Linked DNA regions of Homo sapiens: region 2 is linked to region 1. The links are contacts of gene promoters, found by promoter capture Hi-C in blood cells and fetal thymus (Javierre and others, 2016). All regions are on one chromosome and are shown on one strand. The core of a region is centred on a gene start or on the middle of the fragment in contact, and the rest is flanking DNA. Distances in the headings are between cores, read along the strand shown.

Region 1 (7,506 bases), core at 1,939-4,438:
TTACTGAGGGACAACAAATGATTATTAGGAAGAATGGATCAGAAACAGAAATTAACCTGTAAATAGTTATCTTTGGAATTTAAATTATTCTTGGAGACAGTCATTACCTTGAAAAAGGGTCTGTTCAGGTGTGGTTACACTGTCTTCTCTTCTGCAATAGAAAGCGAGATAGCTGGGTGTGGTGGCTCACGCCTGTAATCCCATCACTTTGGGAGGCCGAGGCGGGCGGATCACGAGGTCAGGAGATCAAGACTGTCCTGACTAACACGGTTAAACCCTGTCTCTACTAAAAATACAAAAAATTAGCCAGGCATGGTGGCGGGTGCCTGTAGTCCCAGCTACTGGGGAGGCTGAGGCAGGAGAATGGCGTGAACCCAGTCAGCCGATATCGCGCCACTGCACTCCAGCCTGGGCAACAGAGCGAGACTCCGTCCCAAAAAAAAAAGAAAGTGAGATAACAGGGAGAGGAACAAGAACTCTTCTCCTTGGTGGGTCAGTCATATCTTTATGTAGATACGGGAAAAGTCTCTTCCAGCACCTTGATTAGGTTTTCAAGTTCAGATATTCATTATGCTAGGCACAGTGGGTCATGCCTGTAATCCCAACACATTGGGAGACCGAGGTGGGAGGACTGCTTGAGCCCAGGAGTTCAAGACCAGCCTAGGCAACATAGTGAGACCCTGTCTCTACAGAAAATTAAAAAACAAAAACAAAAAAAAACAAACCTGTCAGGGTGTGGTGGCTCATGCCTGTAATCCCAGCCCTTTGGGAGGCTGAGGCAGGCGGATCACTTGAGGTCAGGAATTTGAGACCAGCCTGGACAAGATGGCAAAATCCCATCTCTACTGAAAAATACAAAAATTAGCCAGGTTGTGGTGGTACGCATCTGTATTCCCAGCTTCTGGGGAGACTAAGTCAATAGAACTGGTTGAATCTGGGAGGCAGAGGTTGCAGTGAGCTGAGATCATGCCACTGCACTCCAGCTTGGGCGACAGAGTGAGACTCTGTCTATAAAAAAAAAAAAAAAAATCTTAGCCAGGTTGGTGGCATGTGCCTGTGCCTGCAGCTCCAGCTACTTGGGAAGTTGAGGTGGGAAGATCGCTTGAGCCCAGAAGATCAAAGCTGCAGTGAGCCCTGATCATGCCACCGCATTTGAGCACGGGCAACAGAGTGAGACCCTGTCTTAAAAACTAAACTAAAATAGTCATTATACTAGGGAGCCATATTTTGGGGTAAAATATTTTGATTTCCTTCAACTGGCTAAGCTTTACCATTTCATATGGGAGGGAAACTGGATCAGAAAAGAGGCAGGGCTGAAAAGAACAAGACCCACGGGGAAACTTAGGACAAAAGGAGTGCACCCATATAACGTATACGGCCCTTCCACCAGTTCCAGACAGTAACGTGATCACAGTATGTTTCACCTTGGGGGTCCAGCCCCACTTAATCTACTGAAACAATGTCAGGGTGGGCTTGGGGTGGAAAACAGCAGCTATAGTATTCTGGAAAAGCTCTCTAGGAGGTTTTTTGTTTGTTTTTTGTTTTGTTTTTGAGACCAAGTCTTGCTCTGTTGCCCAGGCTGGAGTGCAATGGCGCGATCTTGGCTCACTGCAACCTCCACCTCCCAGGTTCAAACAATTCTCATGCCTCGAGCCTCCTGAGAAGCTGGGATTACAGGTCCCCACCACCACGCCCGGCTAATTTTTTTTGCATTTTTAGTAGAGACGGGCTTTCAACCATGTTGGCCAGGCTGGTCTCGAACTCCTGACCTCAAGTGATCCACCGACCTCGGCCTTCCAAAGTGCTGGGATTATGGGAGTGAGCCACTGCGCCTGGCCTCCCTAGGGAGGTTCTATTACTCCTGAAAAGTGAAGAATTACAGGTGAATGTTGATAGGTATGCAAAAGATACTCTGACCTGTTTAAAAAAAAAAAAGATACTCTCAGCTTTAAAGTTTAACGGTTAAGAGCACAGATTCTGGAGTCAGACACACCCAGGTACCAGATACATTACTTGTCTTTATAAATCCACTGTCCAGAGGCCGGGTGAGGTGGCTCACGCCTGTAATCCTAGCACTTTGGGAGGCCAAGATGGGCGGATTGCCTGAGCTCAGGAGTTCGAGACCAGCCTGGGCAACATAGTGAAACCCCCGTCTCTACTAAAATACAAAAAAAACTAGTGGAGCGTGGTAGTGGGCGCCTGTGATCCCAGCTACGTGGGAGGCTGAGGCACGAGAATCGCTTGAACCCGGGAGGTGGAGGTTGCAGTGAGCAGAGACCGTGCCGTCTCAAAAAAAAAAAAAAAAAAAAATCCACTGTCCAGAAGGGATGTGCCTTGGTCTCTGGACTTACCAGCACAGTGAGCCTGGCACCACCTGGAGGGCCACCGGAAGGAGCCCCATCCCCAGGGGTTCTGAGTCAGTAGGCGTGGAATGGGGGCCGAGAACCTGCGCCTCTACCCAGTTCCCAGGCGATACGGCCGCTGCTGATCCGGAAGCTCACTTTGTGAACCACTGACGCAGCACATGGTGAGGACGCTGTATGTGAACACTCAGATATCCTGATACCTAACCCAATCCTTGTATTTGCCGCCCAGGAGTCCCCGGTTGGGTCCACCTTGCTATACGGCCTCAGAATCTCATTTCCTCTTTTGGGGTCTCAGGGCTCTCGTGTGCCAAAAGAGGGTGCTGGGCAAGATGAAATGGTTAGTTATTACAGAAGAGTTAACATCTTCAACAAGGCCCTACAGAACTTGCAGGGTTAGGGGAGAAAATAAGCGGGCTAAATCCTGTGGGGCAGCTTGGAGCTACCCTGGAGCAAGGTCTGGGCTCAGCAGGCGAGTAGGTCGCAAGGAAAGGTAGAGCCGCTCCTGCCCCACTCGCTGCTCGAGGGGCAGCTGTGGCCGACTGGGCGACGCTGACGTCCAGCCTCGGTTTTCCCCTACCTCCTCGGTCTCCACAGCGCCTCCTGGCGCCCATGTCACCGTTCTACCAAGATTGTCCCTCCCCTCACACCTTACCGCGAGCCCGGCGGATGCTGACGTCATTTCCGCCACGAGTAGCGCGCTTGCGCCAAGGCGCCGGTCGCTGTTTCACTCGGATGGCTTCGCGGTCGCCGATTGGCTGCGTGAGCACGTCGGCGGGAGGGCGCGCGACACTGCACCGCCCCTCCCTTCGCGGCGCCTGCTCTGTAGAGCCGGCGGAACCGGGTAGCTTGGCCAGGTTGTGAGGAACCGCAGCGCGCCGCAGGACCGGGCCGCTGAGCCTGCAGCCGCCCCGCGCCGTGACCTGCGACCCTAGACCCCGACTCCCTTTGGCTCAGCCCGCGCGCCCCAGGCCCGGCCCGGGCGGCGCGACGGGAGGATGAGCGGCGGGCGGCGGAAGGAGGAGCCGCCTCAGCCGCAGCTGGCCAACGGGGCCCTCAAAGTCTCCGTCTGGAGTAAGGTGCTGCGGAGCGACGCGGCCTGGGAGGATAAGGTACGGTGGAGTCTGAACAGGGCGCGGGTGCGAGGAGTCGGCTGGGACTCGGGGAACGGAAGACTGGCGCGGGCCTGCCCTCGTCCTCGTTCCGGCACAATCGAGTAGGGCAGTGGGGCGGGTGGCCCAAGGGTGTCAGAGCAAACTTGGCGGGCACTGGGCGGACAGCTGGGCTTGGAGCTCCCCGAAGGGTGGCCTAAGGATGAAGCCCCCTAGTTATGCGGAATTGGCGAGGAGCGGGGAGAGGCGTTGTCATTCGCGGGCAGGGTTTGTGCCTGAACTGGGAAAGGGAGCTGAATTCGATTCGGCCTCCGCCTTTTATGTGCAGTAGGGTTTTGAGTAGGTTACTTGTTTCTTTCGAATTAAGTAGCACAAACATTAACAGTAACAGACTTCTGCTGAGAATGCTTTCTACGTGCCAGGTGCTCTGCAAGCGGAATCTCGTTTAACTCAGAATAACTCTGAAGTGGGGTACTGTGGTACATTAAAGCCTTTTGCACATAGTGAGGCTCGCTAATCTTGAGCTGCTGTTGCTTGTTGAATGTAAAGGACCGAATACTTTGATAAGCATGAGTCAAGAGGGGAGACTGAGACCACCCGCTGGGTGAGTGTGAGGTGTGGGGGTGGAGAAACGCCACCAGATATGTGCGAGAATTGGTTGGGACTTCAGAACGTTCTTACTCGTCCCATTCGGAGGATGCTTCGTAACTCTGCTCCATGATCTGGAAGGGGCCATCACAAACAGCTTGATTCCAGGTAGCTTGAAAAGCGTATTATATTTGCAGTCATTTCTTGGTTTTCTGGGCTGCCGAAGTGGATTTTCCTTCCTGAAGTTCCTGTAAAGGGGGATGGGAGGCACTTCCTGAAGGTGCCCTTGTTCTGCCCCCAGCCCTGCCCAGCTCTTGCAAAACCTGCAGTCTCTAATCTGCTGTGTCATTTCTTTCTTTTCTTGTATAAGGACTGGTTTCTGGAATCTAGGGCAGATCAGAAACCTGAGTCGTCTGTGTTCTTCCATTAAACTTAAATATAGTGGCACCTGCCTCCAGCATTTATGGTTCTAATCCGTATGTGCGGCCAGTAGCACAATTATTATCACAGTCATTTCATTACAGGCCATATTATATATGCACCTCTAGAATTTTGATTTAGAGCACAGATTCTGGAAGTGATCGCTTAATGATGTCTAAATGTATCTTTTTTTTTTTTTTTTTTTGAGACGGAGTTTCACTCTTGTTGCCCTGCAACCTCCACCTCCCAGGTTCAAGCAATTCTCTTGCCTCAGCCTCCCAAGTAGCTGGGATTAAAGGCGCCCGCCACAACACCCGGCTAATTTTTTGTATTTTTAGTAGAGACAGGGTTTCACCATGTTGGCCGGGCTGGTCTTGAACTCCTGACATCAGGTGATCCACCCGCCTCGGCCTCCCAAAGTGCTGGGATTACAGGCTTCAGCCACCACGCCCAGCCCCTAAATGTATCATTTCTACCACATTTTAGTATAAGTAAGAGGTGAAACAGGAAGCACATACTGTTGCCTTTGGGGGGAAACAAATTTCCTGGATATGTTTAGCAGAAAGGTTTAATATTCTCCCCTTTTGCTGTCTTGTGGCACCCACTCCAGATAATTCTTGCATTTTCTGTCTTTTCTACAGGATGAATTTTTAGATGTGATCTACTGGTTCCGACAGATCATTGCTGTGGTCCTGGGTGTCATTTGGGGAGTTTTGCCATTACGAGGGTTCTTGGGAATAGCAGGGTAAGTCTTGGGTATCTTATATTTTCATGGTATCATTTCTTTTTAAATAGAGGCTTTTTTTCCTGTTACAGGAAAGGCCATTGCTGCTCTGGAGCTGTGTGTGTGTGTGATGACTAAAGCAAAGAAGCAGCCCTACAGTGGCACTCCTGGGTCTGGTGCACCACTCCTCAGGAGCATCTCAGGTCAGGCAGGTTACCTTCCTGCCTTCCTGAAGGCTGGGCCAGTCCATTCATTCATGGGTCTAAAGTGACCTCATGCAAGAGGCTATGACTACTTGTTCGTGGCATGCACTCTAGTTCTGCTGTGACCTTTGTACCTGTGCGAGTTTGGGAAGTAGGAACTTCTGTATTTGACGACCATTTCCCTTGTTCCTGGCACAGTGCTTAATGTCCTAAACCTTGGCTTTGGTAGAAGTTATTTCAGGTCCCTCCATTTTGTTTTTTTGAGATAGGGCCGCACTTTGTTGCCCAGGTGGGAGCACACTGGCACCATCACAGCTGACTGCAGCCTCGACCTCCTGGACTCAAATGATTTTCCTGCCTCAGCCTCCTAAGTAGCTGGAACTACAGGTGTGAGCCACCACACCTGGCTAATTTTTAAAAATTTTGTAGAGACAAGGTTTCTCTACATTTCCCAGGCTGGTCTTGAACTCCTGGGCTCAAGTGATCCTCCTTTCTTGGCCTCTCAAAGTGTTGGTATTATAGGCATGAGTCAGCAGGTCTGGCATCGGTCTCATTCTTTTTTTTTTTTTTTTTTTTTTTTAAAGACAGAGTCTTTCTCTGTCGCCCAGGCAGGCGTGTACTGGCGTGATCTCGGCTCACTGCAACCTCTACCTCTCAGGTTCAAGCAATTCTTCTGCCTCAGACTCCCAAGTAGCTGGGACTACAGGTGTCTGCCCCCATGCCCGGCTTATTTTTTGTATTTTTAGTAGCGACGGGGTTTCGCCATGTTGGCCAGGTTGGTCTTGAATTCCTGACCTCAGGTGATCCGCCTGTCTTGGCCTCCCAAAGTGCTGGGATTATAGGCATGAGCCACCATGCCCGGCTCATTGCTGTTCCTAGCCCCCTAATTGATGGTGAGCTGAGGGCAGGAACAGTCATCTTTACGTTTGCATCCCGTAGCAATAACAGACAGTGGATATCCAGAAATGGTCTCCCACTGGGAGTTATACAGGGGGTATACTGTTGCTTGCTCAACTAGGCTACGAAGCAGCAGCTTCACATGTTTTTCTCCCATAGCCACACCCTAGCTGGAGCTACCTGGAGGCCCATGTCAGGTCCCGCTTGGGATGGCTTATCAGCCATTCTGTTACTTCAAGGGGCTTTGGAGAACTATATTACACACACACACACACACACACACACACACACACACACGCACACACGCACACACGCACACACGCACACACACACACACACACACACACACACACACACACTATATATAGAGTTTCGCTGTTGCCCAGGCTGTAGTGCAGTGGAACAATTTCGGCTCACTGCAACCTCTCCGCCTCTGGGTTCAAGCAGTTCTCCTGCCTCCACCTCCTGAGCAGCTGGGATTACAGGCGCCCACCACAATGCCCTGCTAGTTTTTGTATTTTTAGTGGAGATGGGGTTTCACCATGTTGGCTAGGCTGGTCTTGAACTCCTGACCGCAAGTGATCCGCCCACCTCAGCCTCCCAAAGTGCTGGGATTACAGGTGTGAGCCACCACACCCGGCCCCGAGTTCTGAGTCTTCTAAGCTTTCAATTTATGTTTGGTACTTGTTCTCTGTTGCTCCAGATTCTGCCTGATCAATGCAGGAGTCCTGTACCTCTACTTCAGCAATTACCTACAGATTGATGAGGAAGAATATGGTGGCACGTGGGAGCTCACGAAGGAAGGGTTTATGACCTCTTTTGCCTTGTTCATGGTATGTGTAGCTGATAGTTTTACAACAGGTACTGTTCATTTCATGAGGTGTCACTCACAGGAGGGGACCCCACTGATTGAGTTACACTGTGTGAGCAGGGTGCTATTTTTCTAAAGGCTTCTGAGGCTCAGGGCCATGGCCTGTGTTGAGCCACATCCCAGAAGATGTGGTCTGATATACTGTACAGTCCCCTGTAATGTGTAAATCCAGGGCCCATCGTCAGCTTCTACATCTGATTCTCAAGCCTGGCTAGATATTAGAAACTAGGAGGGCTGAGCATGGTGGCTCACGCCTGTAATCCCAGCATTTTGGGAGGGCAAGGCAGGAGGATCACCTGAGGTCAGGAGTTCAAGACCAGCCTGGCCA
Region 2 (7,506 bases), core at 1,760-4,259, 290 kb after region 1:
TTCATGTTTATTGTAGAAAAACCAGAAGACGTTAAAAAAATTAAAATTGCCTAAAATTCAACCCCCCCCAACTCTTAACATTTTCATGTATATCCTTCCAGACAATGTTCCATGAATGTGTGTGTGTGTGTGTGTGTATACTTACAAAAACAGGATTCTACTCTGTATGTGTGGAAATGATTTTAACTTACAGAATATTGTCAAACCTTAGAAACCTGGGCTTGAGCACTGGAACTAATAAATACTGTAGCAGCGTCGTTCCTCCTCTGGCCTGCTGCAGAATGTTGAGGCCTTTTTGTCTGCCACCAGTGCCAGGTGCTTGTGAGTCTGTTATTTAATTTCACAATGAAGGTATGAAAGGAGTAAATGAGTAATATGCATTTTTGGACAAAGAGGTCGAAACCTTTGTGGAACACAACTTTCAAGATGGAGATATATATTCACGAAGCTTTATTGCAGCTGTTTCCCTTACCCAGTTGAAGTGGCCAGTCATTTTAATTTGCAGTTCTATTTACATTCCCAAGGTAACCACGTTCAGTAACTCTCTAGAGGCTAAGCTGTTAAAATTTCCATTTTTATACAAATAGCAAAGATATTTCTTTCTCTTTCTTTCTTTCTTTCTTTCTTTTCTTTCTCTCTTTCCTTCCTTCCTTCCCTCCTTCCTTCCTTCCTTTCTTTCTTTTTGTTTGAGACAGAGTTTCGCTCTTGACCCCGAGGCTGGAGTGCAGTGGCCTGATCTTGGCTCACTGCAACCTCTGCCTCCCGGATTCAAGCGATTCTCCTGCCTCAGCCTCCCGAGTAGCTGGGATTACAAGCACACACCACCACGCCCGGCTAATTTCACCCGGCTAATTTTTGTATTTTTAGTAGAGACTGGGTTTCGCCATGCTAGCCAGGCTGGTCTCAACTCTTTACCTCAAGTGATCCGCCCACCTTGGCCTCCCAAAGTGCTGGGATTACAGGCATGACCACCTCGCCTGGCCAAGAAAAATGTAACCTTGTAAATAGCACAGCGTTCTCATAATGGAAACAGTTGCAAAGAACATAAAGTACAGCTGCGTTACATGTAACAAAAGATGCAAACAAAATAGATTCAAGTTGTTTTGCAGACAGCACAATGATACAATATTAGGACTACAGAATCTCAGAGTAAACCACAATGATTTAAAGGTAAGATACACAGAAATAAAATGATTTTAACAGAAAAATATGACATTCCTGACCTTAGGTCTGGGCACATGATGTCTGACCCCTATAGAGGCACCTTGGCTAAAATGGGAATGACCTAGTGCCATGGCTGACCTCACTTGTGCGTTGCTGAGCCCATATGTGAACAAATCCCCTTGATACAGCACCATGGTAGGCATGAGAGGAGAAGTGTTTTAACTATTCTCTTATGAATTGTAACCAACCCTTATTATCTACTGATGGATGGACAGGGGGTGGGGTGATCATACAGGATGGCAGACATTCCAAGTACTCTTCACCCCAGTGTGGACGGAACAGAATCTGGCTACACGGTGGCCAGTGATGGACTGCTGGGAAATCTGCTGGCCTGTGGTCTGAGTTCCCCTACTTGCTCAGGCTGCCCCTCACTCCCAGTGTGCCAGGGAGGCTTAGTCCGGGGAGCATCAGAGCAGAAGACATTCGGGGCTCATGGCTCCCATCCCCACTGGCCTGTATCTTCAGCACCCTCTGGCCACCACCAGCTTTGGCTCTAACTGCAGACTTTGTTCTTGGTGAATTGCTATAGAACTGGGAATGAGGTGTGCCCTGGGCACAGGGGCACTGCCCCACCAAGGTGGTGCCCACTCCACTGCTGGGAAAACGAAGTTACCTAGCGGAGCCTGGAGCCCACTGGGTGGTCACTAATTTCAGCACAGGCAGTGCAGTGTTTGTGCTTTTTTTTTTGGAGATGGAGTCTCACTCTGTCACCCAGGCTGGAGTGCAATGGCGTGATCTAGGCTCACTGCAACCTCCGCCTCCCAGGTTCGAGCAATCCTCCTGCCTCAGCCTCCCAAGTAGCTGGGACTACAGGCACACGCCGCCACGCCTGGCTAGTGTTTGCTCTTAAATACACAAAATGCACTGAACCAGCAAAAACAAAGTCCCAGGTCTGAGGAGCTCTGAGGATGATGCCTGTGATGGCCTCTGGCCAGCTCTCCAGGATACTGAGAGAGCAGGTCAGGGGAGGCCTTCTCCAGGCTGGGCAGTGGGAAGGCCCTCTGGACCGGGGGAGTGAGTATTCAGGGGACAAAGGCACTACCCGGGTCTGGAGCCGCCACGGAGCCAGGGCACAGCCTAGTTTGGGGGATTCCTCTGTCACTGGGGTAGGATCTCCCAACAAGAGGCGGCTTTATGTTCCACTCACGAAGAGGCCAGAGCTCTCAGATCTTCCCCAAAACCTAATCAGGCCTCTCACCAGCGTGTTGGAGGCCACTCCTGGCCATCATCTCCAACTCTTTACCCCAACCTGGCACCTTGTAGGGGGCTAGAAGGGTGAGGGGAGGTGTCTTTCACTTATGCTTAGGTCACTCTTAGAGGACTATCCTCAAACTTGAGGTGACAGGGAACTCTTCACGGGGGCAGGATTTGATGTTTTGTTTTTAGCCATGTTTGTCAATGACAATGTCAATTTCTAGTTCCAATTTGTACCCTTGTCTCATTTCTACATTAAAAACAAAAAACAATCATCTGTCATAAAAGTTCAGAGTAAGCTGGGTGTGGTGGCACATGACTTTAGTCCCAGCTACTTGGGGGGCTGAGGCAGGAGGGTCGCTTGAGCCCAGGAAAGTTCGAGTCCAAGCTGGGCAACAGAGCAAAACCTTGTCTCTTAAAAAAGAAAAAAAATAGAGTTCAGAATAGATAAAAGAGTTGTTATTCTAAGAAAATAGACTACTGAAGGAGAAAGGCTTTAATAATATTAAAAATAGGCAAGGTAATGCTTTTCATAGTATAGTAAGATTTGCCTAATACCATCTTATTTCTTTGATTAAAAGTTACTTAGCTTCAGCATGCGTGTACATTCAAAATACAAAATTAAAGCATGAGTTGTCATTAATTTGCAGAATTCTATGATTGAAGCCTCTAAATGAATTGTGCAGGAGAGGGAGTTTGTAAACAACTGACTACAGACATTCACATTGGGTCATCTTTAAAAAGCTGGACTCTGCTTTTGGATGCTTCTCGGAGGCGAGTTGGATTTTGGACTGAAGTACTGTCGTTCCATTCCTTTTTTTGAGGTGTTATGAGTGGGGCTATAACATCGCCATCCTATTAGGAAGAGAGAGAAAAACAGGCAATAGAGAAAAGCCAGTTTCCATCATCTTATTTCTGAGTGAAAGTCTCAAGTGCGCACATCCTCATCTTGCATATAGATTGCTTCTAGCTGTCCTCAATCCAGGGAAACTCCAAATTACATATGCCCTGTGCTTGGGGCAAATTAGAAACACTACAGTCTTACGCAGGAAGAGCCTTCATGAAAACAGCCACTGGCCTCTGCAGAGATGACTGGGAGCAGCATACCACTGCCCACCTCTATGGCCTCCTTCACACACCTTCACGGAGCACAAACTCTGTCCTGTTTTCCCAGGAGAAAGACGGGATGCACTGAACCCCTAGCTTCTCTCTCGCCTGGTCCCCTCTGCAATAAAAGGCCCAGGTCTACAAGATGGCAAAGAAGGGGAGGAAGAACAGTATGTACCTGCAGAATTTAAATTTTTCTCTGCATCAAAGCTCTAACGTTGGTCCCATCAGCATAGGCTCCAGCCAAAGAAGCTCCTCCACCCAAAATAAGGGAGAGATCCAAAGGGAGGCGATACAATGACGTGAAACCATAGAGGTAAGAAGCAAGGCCTCCTAATACTTGACTCTATGCTAAACTGTTCTGAACTTGTGGGTAGATCTTCTTTGGTTACAAGATGATGCACGATCTTGGAGAGCCTCTGTTGTACCAGGAATACAATGCTGGTGGGAGGATTCGTGCTCCTCATCTGCTTATTTGCTCTCAGATCCATTCTTCACTCTTCCTCTCCCTACTCTGTCTCACAGGAGCTACTCCGGTAAATTACATTTCTCAGCTCCCATGCCTGTTGGTTTCCAGTTAGATTTGGTCAGTGGGAGGCTCTGGTGGGAGACTGGAGGTGAGAAGAGGGCAGAGAAGTCAGGTTTTTTCTCTCCCTACCTCCTCTGGCACGAGCGGCAGTGGCAGTGACTATTCTGTGGTTCTAGCTTTTGCAGGTGGCCCCAGCTCCTGGACTCCCACCTGCTCCCTTGGTCTCTCCTATCCTAGAGGTGGTAGCAGCTTCCTGCTGTTGAATCACTGTCCTCTATGCTCATTTAGCTCTGCCAAAACTTTTGTATCTCACCCCCATGTTAAATTTTTTCTGTTGAACTACACTGGATCTGACTTGATAGAACTATTAAAAATAGTTTTTAAAAAATGTGTTATTATTTTTTTTTGAGATGGAATTTTGCTCTGTCACCCATGCTGGAGTGCAGTGGCACAATTTTAGCTCACTGCAACCTCCACCTCCAGGGTTCAAGCGATTCTCCCGCCTCAGCCTCCCAAGTAGCTGGGATTATAGGTGTGCATCACCATGGCTAATTTTTGTATTTTTAGTAGAGATGGGGTTTCACTATGTTGGCCAGGATGGTCTCGAACTCCTGACCTCAGTAAAGGCAATCATTTAGGCCAGGCGTGGTGGTTCATGCCTGTAATCCCAACACTTTGGGAGGCCAAAGCAGGTGGATCACTTGAGGTCGGGAGTTCAAGACCAGCCTGGGCAACATGGTGAGACCCCGTCTTTACTAAAAATACAAAAATTAGCCGGGCATGGTGGCACGTGCCTGTAGTCCCAGCTACTCAGGAGGCGGAGGCAGGAGAATCACTTCAACCCGGGAGGTGGAGGTTGCAGTGAGCTGAAACTGTGCCACTGCACTCCAGCCTGGGCAACAGAGCAAGACTCTGTCTCAAAAAAAAGTCATCCTATTGTCATGATACTTGTACTTAAAGGCCTATCTCAAAATCAACAGTATTTATTTGTCTTTAAACTCATCTCTATTTCTACCCAGCTTGCTTTCTTTCTTTCTTTTTTTGAGACAGCATCTTGCTCTATCAACCAGGCTGGAGTGTAGTGGTGTGATCATAGCTCATTGCAGCCTCAGACTCCTAGGCTCAAGCAATCCTCCCACCTCAACCTCCCAAAGTGCTAGGATTACAGATATGAGCCACCATGCCTAGCATATAGCCAACTTTTTAATTTCTACTCATTCTACTTTCAGTTCTAGTGAATTTTATAAATGTAAACAAATACGTCACTTTCCTGCTTAAAACCCTTCAGTGTCAATGCTCCCTACTGCTCTTGGCTGACAGGACTTTGATAAAGCCCCAGACACCTCCACACTCTATGCTCCTTCCTGAAATGCATCATGTTCTTTCTCATCTTCCGACCTAACCCTGTGGTGTCTATGCCTCAACCCCTCCCCTACCACCACCTCCTGCTGCCAGCCCTTAACCCAGACAACTCCTCACTCAACCTTCAGGTCTCAGTTTATAAGCCCTTCTTTAAATAAGCTTTTCCTGACCAACCAAGACCAGCTAAATCCTCCTTGTTTTTCCTCTTCTAAGACTGTGTACTCACCCTATACCCAAAGTACTTACCATGCTCCTATAATTATTAACTTATGGAGAAAAATTAATAATAATTATTATTATCCCCAACTAGATTATTATCCCCAACCTGAATGGGATCCATGGGTTATTAGGAACTGTCTATCTTAGGTACTGTTCCAGGTACCTAACACAGGGCATGGCAAAATACTCACTCCGTGAGTGAATGTACCAAATTTATAGTAGTTATCACGACACAGCCAAACTTTAATAGCCTCTCTTGACTCTCTATTTCCAGACTCTCCAAGTTCCAGTCTATCTGCAGCTAGAGTTTTCAGTGATTTAGTTTCAGTGATTTAGTTTCACAGTACCTAGGACAGACATACAGTTGGCCCTCTGCATCCATGGGCAGATTCAACCAACTGTAGATAGAAAATATGAAGGGGGAAAAATGGATGGCTGTGTCTATACTAAGCATGTACAGAATTTCTTCTTGTCATGATTCCCTAAACAATACAGTATTAACAACTATTTACATAGATTTACATTGTAGTAGGTTTTATAAGTAATCTAGAGATATTTAAAGTATAAAGGAGGATATGTATAGGTCATATGCAAACACTATACCATTTTATATAAGGGACTTGAGCATCTGTGGATTTTTCTTTTCTTTTCTTTTCTTTTTGAGACAGAGTCTCGCTCTGTCACCCAGGCTGGAGTGCAGTCGCCGGCTAATTTTTTGTATTTTTAGTAGAGACGGGGTTTCACAGTATTAGCCAGGATAGTCTTGATCTCCTGACCTCGTGATCCGCCCACCTCGGCCTCCCAAAAGTGCTGGGATTACAGGCATGAGCCACCGCGCCCAGCCTATCCATGGATTTTTCTATCTGTGGGGTCTGTGGGGGTCCTGGAACTAGTTCCCCACAGACACCAAGGGACAATTCTACTCTTATTCCCACGGGTGTCACTCTAGTTGGAGATGACACACATTCAGGTAGATCATACAGTGCATGGTAATTCTTGAATATGCTCAATGATTCCCTCCCCACTGTACAGAGAAAAAAATCTCTTAGCCAATTATCCAAGGTTCTCAATAATCTAGTCCACTCTTCCCATTTAACCTCTCCACACTTAACAGTAAGAACTTTCTGGCTGGGCATGGTGGCTCACACCTGTAATCCCAGCACTTTGGGGGGCCGAGGTGGGCGGATCACGAGGTCAGGAGATAGAGACCATCCTGGCCAACATAATGAAACCCCATCTCTACTAAAATACAAAAATTTAGCCAGGCATTGTGGCACATGCCTGTAATCCCAGCTACTCAGGAGGCTGAGGCAGGGGAATCGCTTGAACCTGGGAGGCAGAGGTTGCAGTGAGCCAAGATCGTGCCACTGCACTCTAACCTGGGTGACAAAGCAAGACTCCATCTCAAAAAAATGAATGAATTAATTAATTAAAAAAAAAAAGAATTTTCTACCCTGACAGGTCTCCTCATGGTCCCCTAAACAGTCTCAGCTCATTCCAGCTTCATGCCTTTGTGCTCCTCCCACTGCCAAATATACCCTGCATTCTCCCTGCTACTCATCCAAACACAACCCTGCCTTCTAGATCTAGCAGATCCTGCCCCTTCACCAGGCTTCTCCCAGAGATCTCCCAACTCTCTGAATCCTCAGAGATCTTACCTGGATCATGCCTTGTGGCACTTGATAAAGCACCGACATCCTGAGCTACGCTTTCATGTCTCACCCTATCCTTTGTTCCCTTTAGCACCTGACACACAGGGAGGTGTGAGGGAGAGTTCTAGACTAGGCAGTAAAGCACTGTTGCCCTGCATGCCAATCATATTCATTCATTCATTCATTCAATAAATGCCAACTGGCCACATTCTCTGTGCA

Evidence for each region. The method cuts DNA at HindIII sites, captures the fragments that hold promoters and counts their contacts. A CHiCAGO score of 5 or more calls a contact.
Region 2: a fragment that was not itself captured here is called in contact with the fragment with the promoter of RAB5IF in region 1 in 5 of 17 cell types (endothelial precursors, total B cells, total CD4 T cells and 2 more); the score reaches 7.8 in endothelial precursors.

What each region holds. Positions count from the first base shown.
Region 1 is chr20:36,602,591-36,610,096 of GRCh38, forward strand. It overlaps RAB5IF (RAB5 interacting factor), which reads left to right and starts at 3,189. Exons shown (of 4, transcript NM_018840.5): 1 at 3,189-3,475; 2 at 5,125-5,228; 3 at 7,011-7,140. The coding sequence starts at 3,362. TGIF2-RAB5IF (TGIF2-RAB5IF readthrough) reads left to right here. Exons shown (of 5, transcript NM_001199535.2): 3 at 5,125-5,228; 4 at 7,011-7,140. RefSeq lists enhancers at 2,063-2,112, 2,843-2,982, 4,334-5,533 and silencers at 2,104-2,503, 3,183-3,492. The HindIII fragment of the contact is 5,705 bases long and covers 1,264-6,968 here.
Region 2 is chr20:36,889,794-36,897,299 of GRCh38, forward strand. TLDC2 (TBC/LysM-associated domain containing 2) reads left to right here. Exons shown (of 7, transcript NM_080628.3): 7 at 3,069-4,442. It overlaps SAMHD1 (SAM and HD domain containing deoxynucleoside triphosphate triphosphohydrolase 1), which reads right to left. Exons shown (of 16, transcript NM_015474.4): 16 at 436-3,273. The coding sequence ends at 3,139. Among named protein-coding and RNA genes, the nearest start is that of TLDC2, 17 kb to the left of the region's middle. The HindIII fragment of the contact is 5,127 bases long and covers 447-5,573 here.